Linked DNA regions of Homo sapiens: region 1 is linked to region 2. The links are contacts of gene promoters, found by promoter capture Hi-C in blood cells and fetal thymus (Javierre and others, 2016). All regions are on one chromosome and are shown on one strand. Each heading gives the region's core, a stretch centred on a gene start or on the middle of the fragment in contact. The rest is flanking DNA. Distances are from core to core; before and after follow the strand shown.

Region 1 (5,017 bases), core at 1,752-4,251, 2.7 Mb after region 2:
TTTTTCATGTTAAGGAAGCATCCTATTTCTGTTTTAGTAAGAGCTTTAGTCAAGGATAAATGTTGAATTGTATTAGTTTTTTAATACCTTTACTGCTTGATTTCTTAATATTGACTATATTTCTATAATAAAATCCAATGTCATGTTTTATACTTTCAATGTAATGTTAGACTGCATTTGGTAATAATTCATTTACAATGTTTGCATTAATATTCAAAAGTGAGACTGTTTTTAGTGTTCCCTTTGCTAGATTTTTCTGTGTTATCATGGCTTCATAAAGAGAATTAGAAAGCTTTTCTTCTTTCTGTATGAAATGGAACAATTTCAAAAGGAGATTCTCTTGAAAGATGGAAAGTATTTACCCATGAAATAACACATAGCTCTTGGGTAATACTCTTAACTTGCTTTGGCTTTCAAATTTAAAACCCTGGAGATAACCCAAAAGTACCCCTGGGTTTACTTTTCTCATTCCTAATTTTGTATTTTTGTATCATTCCTTTTTCCCCTGATTTAACTAGCAGTAGTTTGGTCTACTGTTTTTATTTACTCTAAGAATTAGCTTTTATAATTTTTTTCCTTTTAATATATTAGCATCGTTATCTATTTTAAGTCTTTCTGTTTCTTTAGGTTTATTTCATGTTTCCTTCTTAATATTATTAAATAGAATATTTCTATTATCTCTCAATTATTCAGGATATTGATTTTCTAATACATTCAAGCTTTGGTTACATTCCATATATGGTACTATTATGATGTTATTTTCTAGATAGTAAGTAACTGTATTTTCAGTTTCCTGTGGATACCAATAAAGTATCCACAGTTAGTTTTGTAGTTTTTATTTTTGTTACTTGTTCATTAATGCATTCAATTAACCAGCAAATACTTAGTGCCCTTCTAGTTCATTTTGGTCACAGACTGTGTTTTGTTCTACCTCAACTACACTGTGGTTTGCTAATTAATTTCATCCCCACAGAGTCATTTTATGTTTTTAAAAAGATAAATTTCACAAACATTTTATGAGTTTTCCTCACAGAACTCTGTATGGAGAATAAACTAAAAAACTTTATAAATACTGCATTTCATCAAATTTAAGATTACATCTAGGATTCATCATTATTTCATATGCTATGAAAGCAACTGCCATGCTGATTTCAAAGATGTTAAAGTGTGAAAACGTGCATCTTAGAAGCATGAAATATAGCATATTTAATATCAATTGCCCTCTTTCACCAAATTCACCTAAGACAATGGCCTTTCATAATCTTTTCGTTTGTTTTTCCAGAATTGTCTTGTCTTCCACACTCGTTACCTTTTCCAGATAAGAAACTCCATGACTGCTCAAGGGATTTGAGCAAGGCAAAGTGGTCCCTTCTTTTAGGACTATTTGAATTGGGAGAAAAGAATAGTTTCAAAGAAGTACACTTAACTTTATAATAATTTTATATTTGAAAAGTGAAAACATATTTTTAGAATGCTATGAATAAATGAAAGCATAATGAGAACACTATTGAAAATAAGGCAGGATCTTTTTTTTTTAAGTTGAAAAACTGAAAAATCAACAGTCAGCTACTTGTCAATTCTCTCAGCTTCTTTCAGAGTTTATCAGAATATCTCTTCTCCACTACCTAAACTTTTTTTTTCAGGAGCTCTAACTCCAATACCTAAACTTTCGATACTTTAATTTTGCCCAAGCAATATTTCAGTGTGTGAAAACAATGCAACATATATACACACACATATATATATACATACACACACACACATATATATACACACACACACATATGATCAGTGGTAAAGCTTCTTTAACATGTCATCTCCACAGAATCACTTTATAGCAAGAGGAAAACCTGCTTTTCCTTAAATAGGTTACTGAGTTCATTGTTTCTTTTTTTCTCTTTGCAAAGGGCTAAAAAATGAACATCAGGAACAGATCCTATTCACAGAATCGAAATTTAAATTACTTACTAATGCTTTCTTAGCATAAAAAATTATACCAAGATACCTTGTCAAATTCTGTTCATCTTTCAACTATACAGTGGAAAGCCTACTCAAATGTTCAATTTACCCCATAACGCACCTTCCTGCCTGCTTAAACAAATGTATTTAGGGATAAATGTTTTTAATATTATTCTAGCTCTCACATGGTCACTGACAGAAACAAGAACTTATTCATGAAAAAGGTTAAAGAAACAGGTAAACAAAGTCACTGGAAAAATAGGCCTTTAAAACAAAATATAAAGCACAGGCTAATGAAATGGATAAATTTAGAGGGCACCTGCCCTATACCTTATCAATATAAAACTCCATCTAGACATAAAGTACGCGCAAGAAGCGGTTAGTAGGCAGAAACAAGCCAGACTCTCTCCTCTCCTCATAATATTAAATCCACTCAAGATATACAGTGAATGACAAAAGACCACGACGCCGATCACCCGAAGAAACCCCAGGTAAAAGCACGCCACAACTGTCCTGAACAGGTAGCCTCACAGTCTTGAGCTGAGTCACACTTCCCGTACCTGTGCCCACTCTATCCGACCCCCCGCGGCCTAGCTAAACCAAGAATCCGAAATTAAACTCCGAAACGTTCCTTCCCGGGAGACGAAACTCTCTCCCACCCCTCCCCCTCACAGATCCTTCCCTCCCCGAAACTGGGGCTGGGGGCGGGGAGGGGAGTCGCCTCAGAAAAGCGCATCTTGATTCTGACCGCTGCGGTCTCCCGTGAGGACCCCGGCACTCGGAACTGAGCTGGGATCCAGGCCCAGGGGAGTCACAGGCCCCGTCCTCACAGCTCCCCCAAAAACCGGCCCCAGGTGAGAAGACGGAAGATCGCTTACTAGTGGGAGCTCTGCCAAAAGTTCCCTGCCATGGAACACAGCTTGCCCTGATAAAAAAGCACCAGCCGGCGGAGCGGCCCGCGGAGCGACCATAGACCCAGCCCGTCCGGTAACCGCGCTCCTCGATCAAATCAGCTCGGCTCGACTCCGCTCCGCGGCGGCGACGGCGAAAGGAAGAGGATGGCCCCCTAGTCTCCTTCACGCCGGCCGACAACACTCAACTGTGCAAACCCGTTCCTATCGACAAAAGTTCCGGCCCGCGGTAGCGGAGGGAGCCGGAGGGGAGGTGCTGACCCTTGGAGGTGCTGAGATTGAAGAGAACTAGTGTTCACGAGAGCTCGCGGCGGTTGGAAGGCTCTCGCGAGAGCGTCTTGAGAATTCTGGCCGGGGGCCCAAGCCGCTCGGTCTCCTGTCTTCAGCACGGGAGTTGCTGAGTGGGTCTAACCTAGGCGAAGTGGCTCAGATACGGGGTTCTGTTATTACCTCTTCCAGGACTTCAAAAACAGAACAATGTGGCATTGTAATAAAGTACAAGGTTTTGTGACTTATTTTTCCTGTGATTGGAAAGAGAAATAAATGAAGATGACTTTGTTCTCAGGGATCAAGTGTTCCTTTTTTTTTTTTACTTTATTTATTTATTTATTTTGAGACGGAGTCTTGCTCTGTCTCCAGGCTGGAGTGCAGTGGCACGATCCCGGCTCACTGCAAGCTCCGCCTCCAGGAGTTCAAGCGATTCTCCTGCCTCAGCCTCCCGAGTAGCTGGGACTGCAGGCGCGCACCACCATGCCCAGCTAATTTTTGTATTTTTAGTAGAGATAGGGTTTCACCATGTTGGCCAGGATAGTCTCAAACTCCTGACCTCGTGATCCGCCCTCCTCAACCTCCCAAAGTGCTGGGATTACAGGCGTAAGCCACCGCACCCTGCCTGTTTTTTACTTTTGAGACGGAGTCTGGGTCTGTCACCCAGGATGGAATGCAGTGGCACAATCTCGGCTCACAGCAACCTCTGCCTTTCCAGTTCAAATGATTCTGCTGCCTCAGCCTCCCAGGTAGCTGGGATTACAGGGATTACAGGCGCGTGCCACCACGTCCATCTAATCTTTGTATTTTTAGTGGAGAGGGGATTTCGCTAGGCTGGTCTGGAACTCCTAACCTCAGGTGATCCGTCAGCCTCAGCCTCCCAAAATGCTGGGATTAACAGGCGTGGGCTACCAGGCCCGGCCTGGATCAGGCGGTTTTTTTTTTTTTTTTTTTTTGAGACGGAGTCTTGCTCTGTCGCCCAGGTTGGAGTGCAGTGGCGCTATCTAGGCTCATTGCAACCTCTGCCTCCCAGGTTCAAGCGATTCTCCTGCCTCAGCCTCCCAAGTAGCTGGGACTACAGGCTCACACCACCACGCCCAGCTAATTTTTGTATTTTTAGTAGAGACAGGGTTTCACCATGTTGGCCAGGATGGTCTCCATTTCCTGACCTCGTGATCCGCCCACCTCGGCCTCCCAAAGTGCTGGGATTACAGGCGTGAGCAACCGCGCCCGGCCGCGATCTTTTTTTTTTTTTTTTTTGAGACGGAGTCTCGCTCTGTCGCCCAGGCTGGAGTGCAGTGGCGAGATCTCGGCCGCGATCTTAATGGAGTTATTTTGGAGTGATAAAGTGCAAACTTACAGAGCAGCGGAATCAACAGTTTTGCAGAACATCTAAAAATATTCATGCATATATGTATGCACATGTATGTACATGTATGCACCTAATAGAAACATACTGCAAAAAAAGCCATAATTTAATTTTACAAGACGAAATATTTTGTATTTTCCATTTCATTTTCATTGTAGCAATGCATTTATTGTAAAACTTATAATTATTTTTCTAAATAATTGGACACTCCAGAAACTTGTTTATAGACAGTCAGCATCTGAGGCAACTTAAGACAGTATTTTTCACATTGTAGGTGGAGACCAATTAGGGTGTGGTAAAATTAAGTATAATCATTTTCCTAAATAGAACAGAAAATACTAGGTAAATCAGAAATAGCAAGGATATTATATTTAAATTTGGTTCAGTTATATATGTGTGTATATACATACACAAACACACATATACACACACAGTCAAGATGTGAAATGCATTTGTTTGTATGTGAGAATTAGTCTGCATCAGGTGTGGTGGCTCACGCCTGTAATCCCAG
Region 2 (4,888 bases), core at 1,381-3,880:
CCCAGTATTCCTTTACCACAAAAGGCAAAAAGACTGAAATATTTGACAGAATTTTGAATAAATATGTTAAAAAGTCAGACAACAAATAAATTATTTGCCATATGAAAGGCACAGTATCAATGATGTCTAGAGGCATCACAACCATGAACTGCCCGAAGGAAAAAAAGGGACACAGAACATAAACAAAAGGCAATTCCAGTTTTCATTATCACTCTCCCTAAGGAATCTAGACTTTTCCTAATGTCCCCATGAAATTTTAATATCACTATATACGTATCTCTTTACGCATTATATGTATAACTGAGTCTTATACATACAAAGCATTAATTTTTTTTTGCTCCCAAGAGTGAATTTTCAGATGCATAATTAAGTAACATGAGAGAAAGAATACTTGGGGAGTATTACTCAACACCTATTTTAAAATGACGTAAGAACACAGACATTAACCCTATACTTTTTTCATGTGAGCATGTGGTGATAACTGAACCCTACAATTACTATGTGCAGCGATTAACAAATCTTGTTTTATTTCTCCTCTGTAGTGAAAATTATATTAATAATTCTATCTGTGCAAATATCCAGAGAGAGAGGGACAGTACCAGAATATTTTAGAATGAAAAAAAAAATCTGGAAGTTGTTGGCACTTCCTTGGCCTTTAATCAAACTTTACCCCTAACTAGAATCTTCCTGCCCCCAAAAACTCATCTGGTTAACTCCAACTGATCCCTCCTCAGGCCTGAACATAACTATCACTTCCTCAGAAACCATCCTTGATCCTCCCATTTCAAAGAGGTCCCTCCAATATACTCAGCAGTGCACGTACTTTTCCCATAATTATGGTCACATTGTTGCTCATTTGTTTAATGGCTGTGTCCTTCACAACATCATAGGCCCTGTGAAAATAAGGACTAGTTTTGTTCATCACTATATACAAAGCACTTGTGCCCAGGACTTACATAATACAGAATATGGATTTACACATAGGTTCCCATTCCTAATGTATTCTTTGATCCTTCTAATTTTAAATATCCTATCTGAATACATCCTTAAAAAAACAAACAGGAACACCCCACAAAATCCAACAACACCACTTACTAAAGGAGTCTCTGAGATTAGAACATACCTCAATCCACAGAAGAATGAGAAAATAATATTAAAGCTCTGCTTTTGTCACTCAAATGACAACCACTGGAAGTAATGCCTTACCAAATCCTACAAATTCTGAAATACTATGAAATAATTCACACAGTTGCTTGTATCAATACTTCCACAAGTTATTTTAGAATTCTGGTAAATATCCAGTGAACCAAGGCATAAGTGTCTTGCTGTCTTACACCAGTGTGCTTAAACTTTGCCAAGGCGTGTAGATTGATCACAACACACACTTGCAGAGCACTCTTTTTACTACTTGCCACACTTAATCATTTTCCTGAAGCCCCAAAATAAGTAAATTGTGTATTCACTTAATTAAACACACATTTACCTGCAAGGAAGACACAGGATCTTTGGAATCAACATACACATCTTTTAGAAACGACAGCAGCTTTTCATCTTTACGAGCAATCTCTCCTTTAACTTCTGGATAGACTAAGGAAAGGAAAAAAGTCACAATATTAAAATCAAGGAAAATTTCCTGTAATATCCTAAACGCTTAACACAAACGCTTTCTTTTATTTTCTTTTTTGAGTCGGAGTCTCGCTCTGTTGCCCAGACTGGAGTGCAGTCGCGCGATCTCGGCTCCCTGCAACCTCCGCCTCCCGGGTTCGAGAGATTCTCCCACCTCAGCCTCCCGACAAGCTGAGGCTACAGGCGCGCCACCACGCCCGGCTAATTTTTGCATTGTTTGTAGAGACGGGGTTTAGCCATGTTGGCCAGGCTGGTCTCGAACTCCTGACCTCAGGTGATCTGCCCGCCTCGGCCTCCCAAAGTGCTGAGATTACAGGCTTGAGCTACCGCGCCCGGCCTAACCACTTTAATTTTTTTAAAAAATAAACATAATCATTTGGACTGTTAGGAAAATACTTTAGATGGAAATCAAAATTCCAGGTCAGGCTCTGCGTCCATCGTCCAGTGAAGACCCCTAGAGAAAGCTCTGTGACCCTCTCGGATTTTGATTCCCTGTATCAAGTCCGTGACAGCAGCCGGCGAGGGCCTGGTTAGCGGGAGCACTGGCTGCTGCCTCTGGGTCTCGGAAGTAGGCGGGGCCGCCGACCTCACCGCGGGCGCGGAGGACAGTCTCAATGTCACCGGCCTGGCGGCTCCCCCTTCCAACGCTCCGCCAACCCGAGCGGCTGCGGCCGAGCAGGCTGACGCCGATCCCTCGGCCTCCGGACCCACGCTAGGGACAGCCGGGCAGCACAGGGACTCCGCGCCCCCGGGCCCCGAAACGCCCTCGCACCACTCACGACTAATCTGCTCTCGCAGGAGGCTGTTGGTAGAGGGGTGTCTGGGAGCGACAGAGGGCTTCATCTTGCTGATTTCCCGTTCCGCTCGGTTCTCTAGGTTGAAATTCCTGATACCGCGAATCACTAGTGCTCCCATCTCCTCATAACATTATGCGCTCAGGTTCAGGCCGCACGTGGGAACACCGGCGCAGGACAACTCCGGGACACCCGGAGCATGCGCACAAGTGAGGGGAAGCCCCGCCGCGGGCGCTTAAATGCGTGCCCGTCGCCCCCTAGCGCTCGGGAGGCCACACACCGCTTCTCTGCCCAGGGCATTTAAAAGGGAGCCCCTCCCTTCGGGGCGAGTGACGGCTCCCACGAGGGCCGCTTCCGGCGGGAGGTGGCGGGGCTTAAGTCCCCAGACCCACGGTTGCTTTTAACGCTGGAACTCCGAGGGAGTCACCCGGGAAGCTCTGTAAAGTTCTGTGCCGGGCCCTACCCCAGACTTTCTGATTTAATTCTTGTGGAGTGAGGCCCAGCATTGGATAAGACTCCACGTGATTCCAAAGTTTCAGTGAAGAGCTGAAAATCAAAGTCGTAAGGAAGTTGACCTTGAAGTTGTTTCACAGGGCAATGCCACCAAAGAGTTAGCCGATAAAAATGGAACTTACTGAACCAGGGTCAAACTGGGCTCTCAAGTTGCCCTTTCCTGCTTTTGTGAAAGGAAAATAATGAAAGGATGTTCCCTTTCGATGAGTATTTGTTCTCAGCCGCTCTCATTTAAATGCCTCTTATTTTCCTGTCCCCCCGCCTGATGCATTTTCAAGCCACTGTATTCTTTTTCCATTATTTTTTACATCCCGTTCTCATTTGACCTAATGGTATCGATTTTAGTTATACTTTCCCTTATCTTATTTTTGCTACTAATTTACTTCTCCATGCTACTAAATGCTGAGTCATTCCCTCTCCTATTTCTCTTCTCTCTTGCCTTCTTCATTCTTTTTAAGCCTCTGTGTAATTTAATGAAAGGAACAGACAATAAGACGTCAGAAAAAAAAAACAAACAAACAAAAAAACGAGTGTTACATTCACCTTCTCCGTCTCTCTCCATTTCCTGAATGGGTTACTGTAGTGCTGCTTTTATTTAAGACCCTTTAGAAATATTGTTATTAATCTAAAATAAAACCCACCAGGAAGGAAGCAGTAGGAAGGAAGTTACAGTATTTCTCTTACTGTGGCTGCAAAATCTATTTTTAGTGTTCTGATCTCTGCTTAGCAAAATGAAGTAGAGTGGATGTTTTTAACCAGCTTAAAGTAAGAAAATATTGATGTAAAGATAATCGAATAGAATAATAATAATAAAACAAGAATCAAAGAACCAAAATGAAGAAAGGGAAAGTTTTTTAAAAAGAAAACTAATGTAATCATTAAGTATAATGCTTAATCAGAGCAAAAGCACTGCAAGGAAGACGGCTTCAGCCACTCTAATTTAAATGCCCTTTATTTAATTATACTGAACATTTTTACAGGGATTGGTATTTGGAATTTATAGAAGCTGAAATCAGTGATCTCAGATAGCATTAACTGGGAAGTTATCCTGAAGGTGGCAGGCTGCTCCAAGATTTCTATCTTTGATACTTTTAAGCATGCTTGTGATTCAGGGCTTTTTAGGCACGGTATTTCTATTTCTATGGGTGCTAAGAAATTTTAATCTGCCTCATTATGTCTATGTGCTTTAATCATGGTAGCAATTCGACTCACTGCCTGTTAAAATATTTTAAAAGTGAAAATCTCATTTTCATAGAAATTCCACCGAACTTCGGGCAGTATGAAAAAGTAATGTTAGAAGTGACTGTCAGGACAGTAGGGATTACAATATGAAATAATTATTTGAATTCACACATTCCAATAGAGCTTGGATTCAACATTGAAAGAGCTTCCAGCATGTGTCAGCTGCTTTGCCTGATCCTGGCCCAGTGCTGCTCAGGCCCTCAAATTGCAAAACAGAAGGCAGATGCACTCCATCAGAAACTCACAATTGGCTGTCACCCTTTGGGAATCATGGAAATAAAACCTGAACCATAAATGCATAATTCCAGCTCTTCTTGTCAAAACATATAAATTAACAGGAACTCTGAACTTAAGAACTCCTGTTGGGCTTATGTTAAGGATTGAAGTCAGATCCCCAAGGAAAGTATAACTAGGATGCTGCTTAGAATGAAGCTTCCATCTGAGTGGAGTATTATGATGCATGTGTATGGCTGAATATCTTAAGATACTAATAAACCCAGGGTCTTGACAACACACTAGAATGTAAATTCTGAGGACAGAACTTTGTCTGTTTTGTTCACTGTTCAACACATTGAACAGCTAGTACACAGTAGGTACTAAACAATTATCAAATAAAGGTCAAATGAACTGAAAGACAAGTAGGATCCCTGAGCTGGAGTCCAGACCCCAGACAAGTTCTCTCTGCCTGAACACTAGCCCTGCTTCCAGAAGTG

What was found. Contacts are between HindIII fragments. The CHiCAGO score rates a contact against its expected background, and 5 or more counts as called.
Region 1: the fragment with the promoter of CCNC here is called in contact with the fragment with the promoter of NDUFAF4 in region 2 in 2 of 17 cell types (non-activated CD4 T cells and fetal thymus); the score reaches 7.4 in non-activated CD4 T cells.

The regions. Positions count from the first base shown.
Region 1 is chr6:99,565,659-99,570,675 of GRCh38, forward strand. CCNC (cyclin C) reads right to left here and starts at 3,002. Exons shown (of 12, transcript NM_005190.4): 1 at 2,838-3,002. The coding sequence starts at 2,869. It also overlaps the pseudogene TSTD3. RefSeq lists enhancers at 2,700-2,779, 2,900-3,189, 3,310-3,359. The HindIII fragment of the contact is 11,578 bases long and covers 1,799-5,017 here.
Region 2 is chr6:96,895,261-96,900,148 of GRCh38, forward strand. It overlaps NDUFAF4 (NADH:ubiquinone oxidoreductase complex assembly factor 4), which reads right to left and starts at 2,631. Exons shown (of 3, transcript NM_014165.4): 1 at 2,406-2,631; 2 at 1,484-1,587. The coding sequence starts at 2,541. It also overlaps a transcript of KLHL32 not described here. RefSeq lists an enhancer at 2,454-2,553. The HindIII fragment of the contact is 8,617 bases long and covers 1-4,605 here.